6 separate regions of the Homo sapiens genome follow, and all the other regions are linked to region 5. Evidence: promoter capture Hi-C in human tissues and cell types (Jung and others, 2019). All regions are on one chromosome and are shown on one strand. The core of a region is centred on a gene start or on the middle of the fragment in contact, and the rest is flanking DNA. Distances in the headings are between cores, read along the strand shown.

Region 1 (2,964 bases), core at 189-2,688, 290 kb after region 5:
TTCTCCTACCTCAGCCTCCAGAGTAGCTGGGATTGCAGGCATGCGCCACCACACTTGGCTAATTTTGTATTTTTAGTAGAGGCGGGGTTTTTCCCATGTTGGTCAGGCTGATCTCAAACTCCCGACCTCAGGTGATCCACCTGCCTCAGCCTCCCAAAGTGTTGGGATTACAGGCATGAGCCACAGCGCCGGCCCTGAATTCAGTCTGTCTACTGCTCTGGGTCTCTTCCACCTGATACCTTTCATCTTTCATACTAACATCTGTTCTAGTACCTACATGCATCACCTTAGTGGAAGCTACAGCAGCTGTCTTCAGCAATTTATGGGTACGCACATAAAAAAATTTCCTTAGAAGCCAAGGAGTCCCCCTTACTATTTCTGTGCCGTAAAGTGGGTTATAGTAACATTCCAGAATATATAACCTGTGTGTGTACCTAAAACTTGATTACTCCAATAAATGAACTCATTTTGTTTCCTGGTGAACCTCATAAAAGACAATCCACCCCTTCCCCTGAACACACTCTGTTCTTCTCCCCCTCTCCCTGGGGCATTGGATTAGGGCCTCAGTGACAGGCAAGAATGACATCACCAGTTCAAAAACTGCTGCTTTATTTTCTCTTTCTTTATACAACCAATTACCATTTTCACATAATTTGCTCAAGTGTTTATGGCTTTTCTTAATTATTTCATAAGGTTCCTTCCTTCTTAGGACACCCAGTTCATGTGTCCATTTTCAGGTCAAGAAACTGAAGCTCAGGGAGTCTCAGCAGGGGGACCAGACATCCAGGCTACCTTAACACCGTCTGGGTTTCTGACTGTTGTTCTGGCATGAGGTTTGCCTAACTCTGGATATTAAAATTACATGGTTGCTCTAGGTCTAAGTGACAAGAACCCACCTGAGTGGTAGTGAGCAAGAGTGGCCTCCCAGGTCACTGTTCTTGTTGTTGCACCTGTGTTCTGAATCTTTGTGTACCCCTAAAAATTCATATGTTGAAATCCTAACCCCCTAAGTGGTATCAGGAGGTGGGCCCTTTAGCAGGTGATTAGGTCACGGGGGCAGAGCCTTCGTGAATGAAATTAGTGCATTATAAAAGAGGCCCGAGAGGGCTGGGTGCGGAGGCTCATGCCTGTAATCCCAGCACTTTGGGAGGCTGAGGCAGGCGGATCACCTGAGGTCAGGAGTTCGAGACCAGCCTGGCCAACATGGTGAAACCCCATCTCTACTAAAAATACAAAATATTAGCTGGGTGGGATGGCAGGCGCCTGTAATCCCAGCTACTCGGGAGGCTGAGGCAGGAGAATCACTTGAACCTAGGGGGTGGAGGTTGCAGTGAGCTGAGATTGCACCATTGCACTTCAGCCTGAGCAACAAGAGTGAAACTCCATCTGTCTCAAAAAAAAAAAAAAAAAAAAAAGGCCCAAGAAAGACCCCTTACCCTTTGCACCAAGGGTGCAAAAAGATGGCTATTCCTGAACCAGTATTTGAACCTTCACACCAGACACTGAATTTGCCAGCTTCCCAGCCTCCACTGTGAGAAATACATTTTTGTTGTTTATAAGCTACCTAGTTTTTGTTATTATAGCAGTCAGATCAGACTAAGGCACACCCTAAAGAAACAAACACAGAGAGGGACAGAGATCTCACACAGAGACAAATTCACATGGGTCTCTGTTCAAGATCCTGCCTGAGTCCTTCTACAAAAGTAAGGAAGCTTCTGTGAAGCAAACATTTCCCTTTCTCCCACTAATGGACCCATTTTGTATAGCATGAGTGTTACACTATGGTTTTATCTAAAACATGGCACTCTGAGAAAAGCAAGATGCAGAAGAGTATACAATGTGCTACCATTTATGTTTAAAAAGAGGGAAGATTTATGTACATCTATTTTTTAAAATACTACCAGAGGGATATATAAGAAATTGGTAACAGGCTGGGCATGGTGGCTCACGCCTGTAATCCCAACACTGGGAGGCCAAAGTGGACAAATTGCTAGAGCCCAGGAGTTCAAGACTAGTGTGGGCAACACGGCAAAGCACTGTCTCTAGAAAAAATACAAAAAATTAGCCAGGTGTGGTGGTGCACACCTCTAGTCCCAGCTACTCAGAGGGCTGAGGTGGGAGGATCACCTGTTCCCAGGAGGTTGAGACTGCAGTAAGCCATGATTGTGCCACTGCATTCCAGCCTGGGCAACAGAGTGAGACTATATCTGGAAAAAAAAAAAAAAAAAAGGCCAGGCATGGTGGCTCATACTTGTAATCCCAGCACTTTGGGAGGCCGAGGCCGGCGGATTACCTGAGGTCAGGAGCTCGAGACCAGCCTGGCCAACATGGTGAAACCCCATCTCTACTAAAAATACAAAATTAGCCGGGCATGGTGGCACATGCCTGTAATCCCAGCTACTCGGTAGGCTGAGGCAGGAGAATTGCTTGAACTCGGGAGGCGGAGGTTGCAGTGAGCGGAGACTGCGCCATTGCACTCCAGCCTGGGCAACAAGAGCGAAACTCCATCTAAAACAAAAAAATTAAGTGATTGATTCTGGAGAAAGAAATTGGGTAACTCAGTGGCAGGGTTGAAGGAAATTTTTGGTAGCACACACCTGTAATCCCAGCTACTTGGGTGGCTGAGGCACAAGAATTGCTTGAACCCAGGAAGCGGAGGTTGCAGTGAGCCAAAATCATGCCACTGCACTCCGGCCTAGGTGGCAGAACAAGACTCTTATCTCCAAAAAAAAAAAAAGTTCCTTTCAGAGTCGGAAGAACAAATAGCTGAACACAGCCACAGCCACAGCCACAGGTTATCTCCCCTGGATGTCAGCTTTTGTATTTCTCCTCTGTTATTTCATCCTGGCTGTCTAGGCCTTAACCATCTTTGTTCTAGCTAAAGCTGTGACTGGATCTTTGTTTTATCACCTTTCCTGGATGTGCAAATCCAGTATTTCTACCCAGGTCTGTGAAACTTCAAAG
Region 2 (2,904 bases), core at 1-2,500, 320 kb before region 5:
TTCCATTCAGATCTTGCATGTCTGCGAAGGAAGAAAAAACTCCTTGACCTGAGGGAATACTCCTTGACCTGAGGGAATACTCCTTGACCTGAGGGAATACTCCTGGACCTGAGGGAATACTCCTGGACCTGAGGGAATACTCCTGGACCTGAGGGAATACTCCTTGACCTGAGGGAATACTCCTGGACCTGAGGGAATACTCCTGGACCTGAGGGAATACTCCTGGACCTGAGGGAATACTCCTGGACCTGAGGGAATACTCCTGGACCTGAGGGAATACTCCTGGACCTGAGGGAATACTCCTGGACCTGAGGGAATACTCCTGGACCTGAGGGAATACTCCTTGACCTGAGGGAATACTCCTGGACCTGAGGGAATACTCCTGGACCTGAGGGAATACTCCTGGACCTGAGGGAATACTCCTTGACCTGAGGGAATACTCCTGGACCTGAGGGAATACTCCTGGACCTGAGGGAATACTCCTGGACCTGAGGGAATACTCCTGGACCTGAGGGAATACTCCTGGACCTGAGGGAATACTCCTTGACCTGAGGGAATACTCCTGGACCTGAGGGAATACTCCTGGACCTGAGGGAATACTCCTGGACCTGAGGGAATACTCCTGGACCTGAGGGAATACTCCTGGACCTGAGGGAATACTCCTTGACCTGAGGGAATACTCCTTGACCTGAGGGAATACTCCTGGACCTGAGGGAATACTCCTGGACCTGAGGGAATACTCCTGTCCTTAATGACCAGGCTCCTTTGAGGACCCGTACCTCCCTTGCGCCCCGCCCGCCTTAAGATCTAAACAGAGTTAAGACAAATGAGTCTTTCAACTCAACAACACAAACTCACTTTCTAGAGATTTTAACATCTCTAATATTCACTTGCCTCCTTGACTCTTGAGGGTTTTATAGTTGAAATCAAAGTCATCCTGGAGATTCTCTACCACTTTCATTTTCTGTTCTAGATCCTGTTTAAAATAAGCAAACAAAAAAACAGAAGTAAAGAAAGATTTCCTTGGGAACAGAAAATATAAAGTTTCTGAGGAGAATTCAAATGAAGCCAAAACCTCAAAAAAGATACATGCAGGACCTGCAGGCAGTATCCCCAAGAGAAGGCTCCCTGTTGGCCAGGTGCAGTGGCTCACGCCTGTAATGCCAGCACTTTGAGAGGCTGAGTTGGGAGGATCACTTGAGCCCAGGAGTTCATGATCAGCCTGGACAACACAGGGAGACCCCCATCTCTACAAATTTTTTTTTTTTAATTAGCTGGGCGTGGTGGTGCATGCCTGTGGTCCCGGCTACTTGGGAGGATGAGGTAGGAGGATCGCTTGGGCCTGAGAGGTCGAGGCTGCAGTGAGCTGTGATCATGCCACTGCAGCCCAGCCTGAGTGGCAGAGCAAGACCCTGTCTCAAAAAAAAAAAAAAAAATTAATGAAAGCTCCCTGCCCGAGGCTTGTAACTTGCATCACCTGCACTCTCTTCCGGACATCCTGAAGGTGCTGCTCCAGCATCTGCTGCTTCTCCGTCACCACGGCTGCTGTGGGGTGGTTGGCCTGGCCCCCTTGCTGCCAAAAAGGAGGTCAATGCACATGTGAACACAGAACTATGGGGAGAGGAATACCTCTACCCAGCTTCCATCCCACCCTAACTACCCTTCTTGTTTGGCTTGAGACGCTGCTGCCATCACAAGAGGAAGGGAAACAGAGGCAGTGGTGCTGTCACTACACAGGTGACACTACACAGGTCATACCATAAACCCCCTTTATGGCACTAAGAGACCACATGTTCAGCTAAGACATGGTCTATGCCTTCAAAAACCTCATGGGCAAGTATGTCAAAAAATTCAAAACAATTTATGACAGCAGATGTTGGATGTCTACTTAAACGTGGTGTCCAGTATATTTCTGAGGGATAATAAAAAAAAAGTCCTGCCCTAGGGATGAAATTCCATATTAAAAGATATTATCTTGGGGAGAAGGGGAGGCTGGTACCTTGGAAAATGTCAAATAGCACATGGAAAAAGAAAAAGAAGAAAGAAGGCTGGATGTAGCAGCTCACACCTATAATATCAGCACTTGGGAAGGCTGAAGTGGGAGGACTGCTTGAGGCCAGGAGTTCAAAACTAGCCTAGTCAACATAGTGAGGCCCCATCTCGAATGAATAAATGAATGAATGAATTAAAGAAATAACAAAAAATAAATAGCATATGAAACTTAAAAATTACAGGTTCGTGCCAGGTGCGGTGGCTGATGCCTGTAATCCCAGCACTTTGGGAGGCCAAGGTGGGCAGATTACCTGAGGTCAGGAGTTTGAGACCAGCCTGACCGACACGGAGAAACCCATCTCTACTAAAAATACAAAGTTAGCTGAGCTTGGTGGTGCATGCCTGTAATCCCAGCTACTCGGGAGGCTGAGGAAGGAGAATCGCCTGAACCCGGGAGGTGGAGGTTGTGGTGAGCCAAGACTGCGCCATGCACTCCAGCCTGAGCAACAAAAGTGAAACTCCATCTCAAAAAAAAAAAAAAAAAATTACAGGCTTGGGCTAGGCATGGTAGCTCCCACCTATAATCCTAGCACTTTGGGAAACCAAGGCAGGAGGATCACTTGAGGCTGGGAGTTTGAGACCGGCCCAGGGAACATAGAAAGAGACCTCATCTCAACCAAAAAAAAAAAAAAATTTTTTTTTAACTAGCTGGGCATGGTGGCATATACCTGTAGTTCTAGCTACTTGGGAGGCTGAGGTGGGAGGATCATTTAAGTCCAGAAGTTTGAGGCCACACTACAGCCAGTTTTATGGGCAACCATTCTCTTCCTTTCCCATGGTCCCTATCCAAGCCCACAGAATACAAACTTCTTAGAAGTTTTGGGAAGGTGACCCATGCCCCTACTTCTTCCC
Region 3 (2,909 bases), core at 378-2,877, 350 kb before region 5:
GAGCGAAGACCCCAGCCCGAGGTGTGGACAGGACCATGCTCCTGGCCTGGGGCCCATGTGGAGCTGGGACCCCCCTCTCCTTTGCAGCGAGTGCAGTGGTGAGATCCTGAACAACTGCTGCGTGATGGAGTACCACCAAGCCACGGGCACCCTCAGTGCCCACTTCAGGAACATGGTGAGGACGGGGCCCACCCTCGGAGGGCAGGTCTGCCCAGAGCTGAGTCCTTGTAAGCAGCCGCCATCTCCCTGTTCCCCTGTCACCTCCCACCCTGCAGTCACTGAAGAGGATCAAGCGTGCTGACCGGCGGGGTGCAGAGTCCGTGACAGAGGAGAAGTTCACAGTCCTGTTTGAGTCTCAGTTCAGTGTTGGCAGCAATGAGCTTGTGTTCCAGGTGAAGGTGAGACCCCCAGCCCTCCTGCCCCCACTGCTCCAGGTCACCCAAGAGGTGGAGGGGCCTGCCTCAGGACTCCTGGCAGCAATGCCATCGGACAGCCTGCTTTGACTCTGTGGGTCCCTGTTTGATAGGTTATAATCTGGGACTAACCCAGACAATTTAGGCAATGGGCTAAGAAGAAGTCGGTTGTAGTTTTTGTTTGTTTGCTTGTGCCTACATTTTGCTGGGAGGGGCTTGTGTTTGGAACTGTGGGTGAGGAAAGTGGGTTGGGACCAGGTGTGGTGGCTCTCACCTGTAATTCCAGCATTTTGGGAGGCAGAAGAGGGAGGACTGCTTGAGTCCAGGAGTTCAAGACTAGCCTGGGCAGCATAGTGAGAACCCGTATCTACAAAAAAAAGAAAAAAGTTGGGCATGGTGGCCTGCACCTGTAGTCCCAGCTATTCTGGAGGCTGAGGCAGGAGGATCACTTGAGCCCAGGAGGTCAAGGCTGCAGTGAGCTGTGATTGCACCACTGCCCTCCAGTCTGGGCGACCGAGCGAGACCCTGTCTCGAAGAAAATAAAGCAGATTGCGGCCATGGGTGGTGGGTCTTGCCTGTAATCCCAGCACTTTGGGAGGCCAAGGAGGGTGGATCACCTGAGGTCAGGGGTTCGAGATCAACCTGACCAACATGGAGAAACCCCGTCTCTACTAAAAATACAAAATTAGCCAGGTGTGGTGACACATGCCTGTAATCCCAGCTACTTGGGAAGCTGAGGCAGGAGAATCGCTTGAACCCGGGAGGCAGAGGTTGTGGTGAGCCGAGATTGCACCATTGCACTCCAGCCTGGGCAACAAGAGTGAAACTCCATATCAAAAAAAAAAATACATAAAAAAAAATAAAGCAGATTGGGCATGTTGCCTAAGCAGAGGGCACGTGGTGGTCACGCCCCATCAACTTGGGTTCCTTTGACTCCTGTAGACTCTGTCCCTACCTGTGGTTGTCATCGTCCACGGCAGCCAGGACCACAATGCCACGGCTACTGTGCTGTGGGACAATGCCTTTGCTGAGCCGGTGAGTCCCCGTGGGAGCCCTACCCCAGCACCCCCAGGCCCTAGGACTCACCTGGGGTCAGCCCCACCCCTTGGGCCCCTGCTGAGTGGTCCTTCCTCACCCCAGGGCCAGCCCAGAGGTGAGGTGAGGCCAGAAGGGCTGGGGTGCTGGGCGCCTGCCTTCCACCATGGCCTTGGCACTCTGGGTTCCAGGTTCCTGGACTGGGGTCTGTGAGGACTGTGAGCTTGGTCTTTGGATCCTGGTCTGGGATCCTCCTTTGGCAGATGGCTTGGGTCCTTGCTCTCTGTTTTCTGTTTCCTGGTCTGCATCTCTGTCCCTGCATGCCCCCACCCCCTGCATCGGTTTTCTTCCCTGCAGGCTGGGAAAAAAAGTGCAAGCTAGTATATAAAAGCCGCCGCATTTCCTGCCCTTGCATTTGTGTCACCTTTCTGGATCTGTCTCAGTCTCCTCTGTCTCTAGGTGTCTGTGTATCTTGTGTGTGTGTGAATATTTCCAACTCCCTCAATCTACCTTTTCCCCTCTCTTGTCTCCCTCTCAGGGCAGGGTGCCATTTGCCGTGCCTGACAAAGTGCTGTGGCCGCAGCTGTGTGAGGCGCTCAACATGAAATTCAAGGCCGAAGTGCAGAGCAACCGGGGCCTGACCAAGGAGAACCTCGTGTTCCTGGCGCAGAAACTGTTCAACAACAGCAGCAGCCACCTGGAGGACTACAGTGGCCTGTCCGTGTCCTGGTCCCAGTTCAACAGGGTGAGGGGCCCAGCTGCCAGCCGCCCACCAGGGCCCACCGGGGTCTGTTGCTCCTCCACCTCACAGACAGGTTACTGCCTGGGGCTAGCACCCCACTCTCCACCCCCAACCACTCTCTCCTACAACCAGGAGAGATGGGGGCCCCTAGCCTCAAGAAATGCAGGCAGGGGCTATAGGAGTTGTGCTTAGTTGTGAAGCCAAGAGCGAGATGACGGAGGGCCCAGGGCTGGGAGTCAGGATCCTTGGGTTCTGGGCCTAGATGTGTTTGCTAATTTTCTTTTTTTTTTTTAGAGACAGAATCTCATTCTGTCACCCAGGCTGGAGTGCAGTGGCGTGATTTCAGCTTACTGTAACCTCTGCCTCCCGGGTTCAAGTGATTCTCGTGCCTCAGCCTCCTGAGTAGCTGGAATTATAGGTGCCTGCCACCATGCTGGGCTAATTTTTGTATTTTTAGTAGAGATGGGGTTTCACCATGTTGGTCAGGCTGGTCTCGAACTCCTGACCTCAGGTGATCCGCCCACCTCGGCCTCCCAAAGTGCTGGGATTACAGGCGTGAGCCACCACGCCTGTGGCTCTGGCTCTCCTTCTGCCTCTCTCCTTGCTAATTTTTGAAGACCCATCCATTCTCTGTGCCTCAGTTTCCCCACCTGTAAAATGAGGGGATGACTTTGGAGGAATGACTTTGGAGGCCCCATCCAGCCTAGATTATTCTTTAC
Region 4 (3,114 bases), core at 615-3,114, 310 kb after region 5:
TGGATACTTGAGGTCACAGGTTTTCCTTCAGCAGATCAGGGAAATCTTCATACTGGGAAAATCACCATAATAATGACTGATATGAAATTGGAACTCTCTCAATACCAAGTCTACTGAACATGTTCTCTCATGTCACTTATTTGCTTAAGAACCTGAGTGGAGGCCAGGGCAGTGGCTCACACCTGTAGGCCCAGCCTTTGGGAGGCCAAGGTGGGAGGACTGTTTGAGGCCAGGAGCTCAAGATCAGCCTGGGCAATAAAGTGAGACCTCATCTCTACAAAAAAGCAGCCAAGCATGTTGGTTGTGCGCCTGTAGTCCCCACTACTGGAGAGGCTAAAACAGGAGGATTGCTTGAGCCTGGGAGTTCGAGGCTGCAGTGAGCTAGATCAGGCCACTGCACTCCAGCCTGGGTGACATAGCAAGATCCTGTCTCTTAAAAATAAAAAAGAAAGAAAATAACCTGCATGGTTCGCTGCCCACACACCTTAATACACCTTTTTTTTTTCTTTTGAGACGGAGTCTTGTTCTGTCCCCCACGCTGAAGTGCAGTGGCACAATCTTGGCTCACTGCAACTTCAGCCTCCCGGTTCAAGTGATTCTCATGCCTCAGCCTCCCGAGTAGCTGGGACTACAGGGGCCTGCCAGTATGCCTGGTTAATTTTTATATTTTTAGTAGAGACAAGGTTTCATCATGTTGGTCAGGCTACTTGGGAGGCTGAGACAGGAGAATCACTTGAACCCAGGAGGCGGAGGTTGCAGAGCTGAGATCATGCCACTGCACTTCAGCCTGATGACAGCGAGAGATTCTGTCTCAAAAAAAAAAAGAAAGAAAGAAAGAAAAGAAAAGAAAGAAAAGCCTTTCTCATAATGCCCACCTTTGGTGTTATTATCCTCCTCTTCCATCTTCACAATGTACCTCACTTGCGCTCATGTTGTACCTAGTCCTCATCACAGCACTGATAAATATGCTCTCTGCTGTACTACTGTAACCCGTCTATCTCACCTGAACTCCTTCAGGAACATCTTTTTCAGTCCCTAAAACCCGAAGCTAATTCCTTCCTTGGGGCCTTTGCACCTGCTATTCTACCTGCCTGAATACTCCCTCTGCCCCCCAGCACCACTAGATAATTGCAAAGACTCACCCCCTCACTTCGTTTAGGTCTCTACTGAAATAACTTACCCTTCATCTAGACAAGCATCCCATCACTCTCTTTCCCTTTACTTGGTTTTTGTTTATTACTTATTATACCTAGCACACACAGTTGTCTTCAATAAACATTCCACGTATATAAAGGCACTGTGTTGTTCACCGGTTATCCTTACAGCCTGGAATAATATCTAGCATATGTTATGTCTAGATAAGCAATTGCTGATAAATACTCATTAAATGAATAACAAAATGAATTAAACTAAAGCTCATCTGAATTCATTATGGCTGAGAAAAAAGGGGCAGGAGAGCATTTCGGCCTGAGCACAAAGAAACTGGGGGCTTCCTGGGAAGAGATCGTTTTGGTACCTGTCCCCCGCCCTCAGGGAAAAGCACTGTGTCTTCCAGCACCACTTGGAAACCGCTCAGCACTTCTTTCTTGCCGTTGCTCCCTTCAGTCTGCAGCTCCGCGGGACAGCAGGAGACCACGGTGGTGGTGAACTGAACAGAGAGGAATGAGAGAATAAGCCCCGACCCCAGCCCTAGCCCTAGCCCTCTCCACACCAGGACAGAATGCCATGTTGGCACTCCCTACACGTGGCGCCCTCTTCCCCAAACCGCCTTGCCGGCCCGGCAGTCTCAAGTGCCTCGCCGTGACGCCGTACCTCTCGGGCATAACTGTCACGCTGACACCAGAACGCCATACCTGCAGGCGTGTGAGGAGGCGCACGCGCAGAGAAGCCTGGGAGCGAACGGAGAGCGACGTGGGACAAACGTCATCAAGGGCGCTTGTCTGCGCAGAAGCAGGAGGGTAAGGAATGGAATGCGGTTTGGATAAATTTACTGAAAACGCGAATTGCATATTTGCTGGGTTGTTTAACGACTGTTCTAAGGCTTTACAAAGGACAAGACCAGGAGGAAAAAAACAAACAAACAAAAACAAAAAAACGCGACCTGGACAAGGCACGTGGTTTAGTGAGCCCCTTGGGGCCCCAGGGATGTAAGTATTCTGGCTGCGGAATCCCAGCGCATAGAGGCGGGGACGGGACTGGCATGGTTACTGAGCAGCACTGCCCAGTAGAAATAGAAAGCAAGGAGCTGGGGGAGGTGGCTCACGCCTGTAATCCCAGCATTTTGGGAGGTCGAGGCGGGTGGATCACCTCAGGCCAGGAGTTCGAGACCAGCCTGGCCAACATAGCGAAACTCCGTCTCTACTAAAAATACAAAAATTAGCCGGGCGTGGTGGCGGGCGCCTGTAATCCCAGCTACCCGGGAGGCTGAGGCAGGAGAATCGCTGGAACCCGGGAGGCGGGGTTGCAGTGAGCAGAGATTGCACCACTGCACTCCAGCCTGGGCGACAGAGCGAGACTCCGTCTCAATTAAAAAAAAAAAAAAAAAAAAAAAAAAAGGCCGAGCGCGGTGACTCACGCCTGTAATCCCAGCACTTTGGGAGGCCGAGGCGGGCGGATCACGAGGTCAGGATATCGAGACCATCCTGACTAACGCGGTGAAATCCCGTCTCTACTAAAAATACAAAAAATTAGCCGGGCGTGGTGGCGGACGCCTGTAGTCCCAGCTACTCCGGAGGCTGAGGCAGGAGAATGGCGTGAACCTGGGAGGCGGAGCTTGCAGTGAGCCGAGATCGCACCATTGCACTCCAGCCTGGGCGACAGAGCGAGACTCCGTCTCAAAAAAAAAAAAAAAAAAAAAAAAGAAGAACAATTTGGCCAGCGTGGCCAACATGGTGAAACCCTGTTTCTACTAAAAACACAAAAACATTAGCCAGGCGTGGTGGCACACGCCTATATAATCCCAGCTACACGGGAGGCTGAGGCAGGAGAATCACTTTAACCCGAGAGGAGGAGGTTGCAGTGAGCCGAAATCGTACCACTGCACTCCAGCCTGGGTAACCCAGCGAGACTACGTCTCAAGAAAATTACATTACATTACATTAAAATAGTTTGGGC
Region 5 (3,006 bases), core at 52-2,551:
AGTGTTGCTTAGTGACATAGAACTTTAGCGTGAGTGACTCCATTTTGGTTTGGTCTGTTGAGCCAAGCACAGGAGCTCAGTGCAAATCAATGGCCTCCTATAAAATTTATTTAACTGAACCCTTGTGCATTGCTGGTGGGAATTTAAAATGGTGCAGCTACCATGGAAAATCGTATGGCGATTCCTCAGAACATTAAACACAATTACCATATGATCCAGCAATTCTACCTCTGGGTGTATATCCAAAATAATTGAAAGCAGGGACTCGAACAGATATTTGTACACTCACATTCAAAGCAGCAACATTCACAATAGCCAAAAGGTGGAAGCAACCCAAATGTCCATGGAGGGATGAATGGTTATGCAAAATGTGGTACATCTATACAATGGAATATTATTCAGTTGTAAAAAGGAAGGAAATTCTGACACATGCTACGAAATGGAAGGATCTTGAAGATATTATGTTAAGTGAAAGAAGCCAGACCCAAAAAGACAAATACTGTATAATTCCACTCATATCAGGTGCCTAGAGTAGTCAAGGGGAAGTTACTGTTTAATCGCGATAGAGTTTCAGTTTGGGAAGATAAGAAAGTTCTAGAAAAGAATGGTGGTGGTGGTTACAGAACAATGTGAGTGTACTTGGTGCCACAGAACTGTATGCAGTACTTACAAATGGTTACAATGGTAAATTTAGGCCAGGAGTGGTGGCTCATGCCTGTAATCCCAGCATTTTGGGAGGCCAAGGCAGGAGGATTGATTGAGGCCAGTAGTTTAAGACCATCTTGGGCAACACGGTGAGATCCCCATCTCTATAAAAATACATTTTAAAAATTTAAAAATTAGCTGGGCGTGGTAGCACACGCCTGTAGTCCCAGCTACTCGGGAGACTGAAGTGGGAGGATCACTTAAGCCAGAAGTTCAAGGCTACAGTGAGCTATGATCGCGCCACTGCACTCCAGCCTGGGCGACAGAGCGAGACCCTTCTAAAAAATAAAAAGGTAACATACATGTGTATGTATTGTAACACCATTAAAAAACAGAAATTTAAACGAAGAAAAGTTGGCTTCTAGCCCTTTGATCTAGCAAAGCTGACAGTGTCCTCACCTACCAATATAGGTAGATGACTCCTTACACGTGGACAAGCACATCCACCTGGCCGCTTCTCCCCTTTCCTCCCCTCCCCCGTTCCTCTCCTCCCCAACACATCCAGGTTCCGACCCTGCCACCCCCAACGAGTCTCACTGCGCAGGCGCGGAGCGGTGGGCAGGAGCGGGCGTGGCCTGACTCTGCGCCTGTGCGGAATTCCAGCTGCGACTGCTGAGGGAGAAAATGATGCCCAGGTTGGGCTCCCCGGCCCACCGGCCGAGGAGAGGCCTGCGCTGCACACGCGCAGACCGAGCATCCGCGTCAAGAGGCGAAGAGAGCGCGCGCTCCCCACGTCCTGCGCTCCTGGCTGCCGGGCATTCGTCTCAGCCGTGACTCTCGCCAGGCCGGGGCTGGCGCGCCCACGTCTGAAGAGCGATGCCCCGGGAGATCATCACCCTGCAGCTGGGCCAGTGCGGCAACCAGAGTGAGCAAGCGAGCGCCGGCCCCGCCGGTCTCTGGTTCTGCCCCTTCGGGTCCCACCCAAGTGCCTGGCTTCCACCAGTCCCCCTTTCCCTTCCATGAACCCCCTGCCCTGCTGCTCTGGATAACCCAGACCGAGAGCTGCGCCTCCAGCCCGGGGCTGGGGCAGCTACCAAACCCAGGCATCTTGGGTCCACCCTCTGATCGTGTCAGCCTCTGAGACTAAAACTGGGCTCCTCAGGCCTTAAGGCTCCAGCAGACCCGGGCATCTCCCCCCTCCCCCAGTTGGGTTCGAGTTCTGGAAACAGCTGTGCGCCGAGCATGGTATCAGCCCCGAGGGCATCGTGGAGGAATTCGCCACCGAGGGCACTGACCGCAAGGACGTCTTTTTCTACCAGGTGCCCCCAGCGACTTGGCCGGGGGCGGCAGTGGCCCAAGGGGGCGGAAGGGAAGGGAGTGGCCTGGTACTGGGAACCCCGCTGGGCAGTAGGGCCAGGCGGCTGGCTTGAGGAGGGAGGGCCGGAGGGAGCCAGAGTTGGGAGGACTTCGGACTTGGGCCGCCCTAGCTGATTGGGCCCCCTCCTGGACTCCCCTTGACAGGCAGACGATGAGCACTACATCCCCCGGGCCGTGCTGCTGGACTTGGAACCCCGGGTGATCCACTCCATCCTCAACTCCCCCTATGCCAAGCTCTACAACCCAGAGAACATCTACCTGTCGGAACATGGAGGAGGAGCTGGCAACAACTGGGCCAGCGGATTCTCCCAGGTGTCCTAGCGACCATTCCAGAGACCTTTGATATTCCCATCCAGAGGCAAGGCAGGCTCAAGCTACTAGGAATTTGACCTGACTGACAGAAAATAAGAGACAAAAGGATGTCCCGAACAAGAGGGACAGCCAGGGAGAGGTTTATGCAAATTTTGTGCAAATCATTTGCAATAGTAGCACTTCTGGGTTGAGGGCTACAGCCTAGGCTCTGCTTCAGGGTGGCAACAATATTCCAGGGTAGACAGAATTCTTGGTGCTGTGCTGAGAAAAGATGCTCTCTGGAACCTTTGGCCTGACCCTCCCTTTCCATATCTCTATACAGGGTGAGAAAATTCATGAAGACATCTTTGACATCATAGACCGAGAAGCAGATGGAAGTGACAGTTTGGAGGTGAAGTTATGGAGTGGGGGAAGGAATGGGCAGGGAGGCCGAAGAGTGCTGGGGACAGGTCAGGAGGTGGCCTGGATAGGTAATATGAGGGGAGCAATTCAATTCAAAACCCGTTTATGGAGCATCAGATGTGGGATATTGAGGTGAATAAGATATAATCTTTGTTCTCAAGGAAGTCATAAATCTGAATGGCACCGGCCCCTTAGGCATGAGTCATTCAGCTGCTTCTCCAGCTCCAAACCTTCCCAAGGAGCCTCAGCCTGGATGCATAAGAGGAAGCT
Region 6 (2,965 bases), core at 40-2,539, 360 kb after region 5:
GCAAGACTAGGAACGGAGGTGGCGATGTGGACGTTCGGGAGCTACTGCCAGGGAGTGTCATGCTGGGGTTTGCTAGGGATGGAGGTGAGGGCTATGCAGGCCTCCTGCAGGGGAGAGGGTATAGGGTGTGCAAGATTACGGTGCAGGGAGAGGAGAGGGCTTGATGCTAAAGGCCCACCCCTCCTTGCTCCCCACAGTGGCTCAGCGTCTGTGCCAAATCGGCCAGTTCACAGTGCCACTGGGTGGGCAGCAAGTCCCTCTGAGAGTCTCTCCGTATGTGAACGGGGAGATCCAGAAGGCTGAGGTAAGCAGGAGGGGTGAAGAACAGGGGCTGGGCTGGGTAACCTGTCTGCCTGCCAGGAACTTGCCCAATGAAGGATCAGAGGCCCCAAACCCCACTGACCTACCTACCCACCATCAGCCTCTCCAGGCCTCCCGACCTCATACCCCCATGGGGCACTGCCTGCCCTACCCCCAGCCCCCAGCCCTTCTCCCATGAGCCTTTGCCATCTCCTGGCTCCTTTTCCAGATCAGGTCGCAGCCAGTTCCCCGCTCGGTACTGGTGCTCAACATTCCTGATATCTTGGATGGCCCGGAGCTGCATGACGTCCTGGAGATCCACTTCCAGAAGCCCACCCGCGGGGGCGGGGAGGTAGAGGCCCTGACAGTCGTACCCCAAGGACAGCAGGGCCTAGCAGTCTTCACCTCTGAGTCAGGCTAGGGGCCTCCCCTTCTCATCCTCCCCACCCCCCCGCCAAGGTTCTCACACTGGCCTGGGCTTGGGTGCCCATATAGGAGGTCTGTATGTTCACCAACAGTGCGGAGGGGTCACACATTGCAAAACACTGCCCAGAACAGTAAAAAGAGCCTGCATGCCATGATGTTCTTCCTCATTTCACTCATGAAAGGAAACGTGATTTGGGCATGGAAAGAGGCAGGGGGCAGGAAGCAGCCCAGATCTTCTGCTGGCAGCACTAGCCTTCCAGGAGCTCACCTTCCCTCCACTCTCAGAGGCAACAAGCAGGACCCAGGGTTTGGCTTTTTATTGACACAAACACACAAAGGCAGCTGTGGTAATGGGGTGGTGGGGTACACAAAAGCAGAAATCGCACTTCACACATTTAGGCCTCATTTAGACAATGAGGAGGCTGAGCCTGTCCCTCCACCTCCCATTGCAATGGTTGGGGCAATAACCCTCCCTAATCCTAGCTCAGTGAGTAGAGGGAGTGACCTCCCTACCCAGGAAGTCCCCATTTTGGTTGCAATGGCCCAGGTCCTGACCATCCCACTCTGTACTTCCCTGCTCCATCTCCCCACCCATGTAAACAGAGTTTTGGGCTGAGTTTGATAAGCTGCCTCTCTGCTTTGAGAAGGCAGTAGGGCCTCCCCTAACTGCAAGGGGAATGTGCTTGGATTTTTACTTTGGTCCCAGTACAAGAAACAGACAGCACTGCCTTTCAGAGCTCTGGCTAGTAAATGCCACACATATCTGCAAGGCTGAGGAAGCTTCCCCGCCTTTCTCCTCAACCACCATAGAGACGGGACATGGCACAGACCACGATGAGGGCACCTGTTTTTGCCCTGCCTCCCCAGGAGGCTTGGGGCTGCCCCACCCAATGGCACATACACAGATTTTTGGCAGTGTTGTGGGACTGGGGAGGAGAGAAACCCCAGCTCCACCAGAACAAGGAAGGCACTGGGGAGTACAGGGGAGGAGAAGGAGGTGGGAAACAGGATCCTCCCTCCCCGCCGCCACACACACACAAGCACAGGTTTTCGTTGCTAAGGCACTGAGAACAAATCCAGAGAACTCAGTGAAGGGTGGGGGCTCTGTATCCTTCCCAGAGTTGTGACCTAGGGGAGTAGGTCTGATTCCCGCCCTGTTGGAAGAGGCAGCCTTGGTTAAGAATGGCAGAAAACCTGGAGATGGAAGAAGCCCAATTGTGCTTAAGAAGTTGGGGACAGAGGACGAGATTGGGAACTGGTCAAGCCCAGAGGCGGGCACTGGTCAGCCCAGGCTGAAGGGACACTAGGGAGAGACAGGTACATGCTGGACTCACAGAGATTGGCCCCATATCCTGAGCTGACGTTTCAATTCTTTGGGGAGGTGGCGGGGCAGGGACGGGAGGAAAGATGAGGCAGAGGTGAAAGCACATGGAACACAACAGGGGGGACTGGCTAACCTTGGCACAAAAGCAGCACAGCAGGCCCGGGGAAAGGGTGGGGGCAGGAAGCAGCCGGCCTCCCTCTGACCCTCCCTGTCGCCTTGGCAGGGCCCAGACATCCAAATGGTCACTTCCCAACCTCTTCAGAGGTCAGGAAGCGGGGAGGGGCAGGGGAGAGCGGTCATCACCACAGAGACCTTCGGGGGAGGGAGGGCAGAGCATTATGACAGAGGCTGAAATGCAAGTCTGGTGGCCAACAGAACGTAGCTTCCCAACTTCTCCCTTCGCTGGTCTCTAGGGTCTCACAGCCACTTGCCCTAGTTCTCCTTCTCTGGCCCTGGAACCAGGAGGACCTTGCCCACATTCTTCTTCTCCTGCATCTGTTTCATGGCATCAGCCACCTGGGGAGGAAGGAAAGATGCGGCTCCCAGTGCTATCCAACCCTCATCCAACAAGAGCCAGTGTGATGCAGGCAGCCCTCCTCTTCCCCAGGAATCTGCCCCTTGGGACCCCAGCCTTCATGAGTCCTACCCAAGCCCTCCCTGCAAAGTCCTCACATTCACCTTCTCGAAGGGCCAGACTGAGTCAATGTGGGGCTTGATGTGGCCCTGGTTGTACAGAGCCAGGAGGCGGGCCACCACACCACTGACCAGCTCCACCTCACCATCCAGGTAGCCCAGGTGGAAGCCACACACAGCCCGGTTGGCCTGCAGCAGCTGCAGAGCTGTCACGCTGAACTGATTCCACCATGTCCGGGCCAGGGCCATCAGGTTCCGTTTGGGGCCCGTCAGCAGGTTGGC

What was found. The method cuts DNA at HindIII sites, captures the fragments that hold promoters and counts their contacts. A contact is called where the count stands out against the background at its distance.
Region 1: a fragment that was not itself captured here is called in contact with the fragment with the promoter of TUBG2 in region 5 in 5 of the 25 tissues and cell types used here (dorsolateral prefrontal cortex, liver, lymphoblastoid cells and 2 more).
Region 2: a contact is called between a fragment that was not itself captured here and the fragment with the promoter of TUBG2 in region 5, in 1 of the 25 tissues and cell types used here (liver).
Region 3: a fragment that was not itself captured here is called in contact with the fragment with the promoter of TUBG2 in region 5 in 1 of the 25 tissues and cell types used here (aorta).
Region 4: the fragment with the promoter of AARSD1 here is called in contact with the fragment with the promoter of TUBG2 in region 5 in 1 of the 25 tissues and cell types used here (adrenal gland).
Region 6: a contact is called between a fragment that was not itself captured here and the fragment with the promoter of TUBG2 in region 5, in 1 of the 25 tissues and cell types used here (aorta).

What each region holds. Positions count from the first base shown.
Region 1 is chr17:42,946,470-42,949,433 of GRCh38, forward strand. No RefSeq gene overlaps it. Among named protein-coding and RNA genes, the nearest start is that of AARSD1, 17 kb to the right of the region's middle. The HindIII fragment of the contact is 8,985 bases long and covers 1-2,964 here.
Region 2 is chr17:42,337,837-42,340,740 of GRCh38, forward strand. It overlaps STAT3 (signal transducer and activator of transcription 3), which reads right to left. Exons shown (of 24, transcript NM_139276.3): 5 at 1,478-1,573; 6 at 895-976; 7 at 1-21. Among named protein-coding and RNA genes, the nearest start is that of STAT3, 49 kb to the right of the region's middle. RefSeq lists a silencer at 1-17. The HindIII fragment of the contact is 7,087 bases long and covers 1-2,904 here.
Region 3 is chr17:42,304,255-42,307,163 of GRCh38, forward strand. It overlaps STAT5A (signal transducer and activator of transcription 5A), which reads left to right. Exons shown (of 19, transcript NM_001288718.2): 10 at 88-175; 11 at 276-398; 12 at 1,356-1,448; 13 at 1,987-2,193. Among named protein-coding and RNA genes, the nearest start is that of STAT5A, 17 kb to the left of the region's middle. The HindIII fragment of the contact is 6,096 bases long and covers 1-2,909 here.
Region 4 is chr17:42,962,590-42,965,703 of GRCh38, forward strand. AARSD1 (alanyl-tRNA synthetase domain containing 1) reads right to left here and starts at 1,865. Exons shown (of 12, transcript NM_001261434.2): 1 at 1,813-1,865; 2 at 1,517-1,648. The coding sequence starts at 1,851. It overlaps PTGES3L-AARSD1 (PTGES3L-AARSD1 readthrough), which reads right to left. Exons shown (of 17, transcript NM_001136042.2): 7 at 1,517-1,648. The HindIII fragment of the contact is 19,831 bases long and covers 1-3,114 here.
Region 5 is chr17:42,657,983-42,660,988 of GRCh38, forward strand. It overlaps TUBG2 (tubulin gamma 2), which reads left to right and starts at 1,302. Exons shown (of 11, transcript NM_016437.3): 1 at 1,302-1,570; 2 at 1,852-1,964; 3 at 2,167-2,334; 4 at 2,657-2,725. The coding sequence starts at 1,522. RefSeq lists enhancers at 1,134-1,901, 1,259-1,318, 1,329-1,398, 1,449-1,518. The HindIII fragment of the contact is 23,957 bases long and covers 1-3,006 here.
Region 6 is chr17:43,013,579-43,016,543 of GRCh38, forward strand. IFI35 (interferon induced protein 35) reads left to right here. Exons shown (of 7, transcript NM_001330230.2): 5 at 1-84; 6 at 198-304; 7 at 530-878. The coding sequence ends at 721. It overlaps VAT1 (vesicle amine transport 1), which reads right to left. Exons shown (of 6, transcript NM_006373.4): 5 at 2,729-2,965; 6 at 1,029-2,566. The coding sequence ends at 2,483. Among named protein-coding and RNA genes, the nearest start is that of VAT1, 7.3 kb to the right of the region's middle. The HindIII fragment of the contact is 4,481 bases long and covers 1-2,965 here.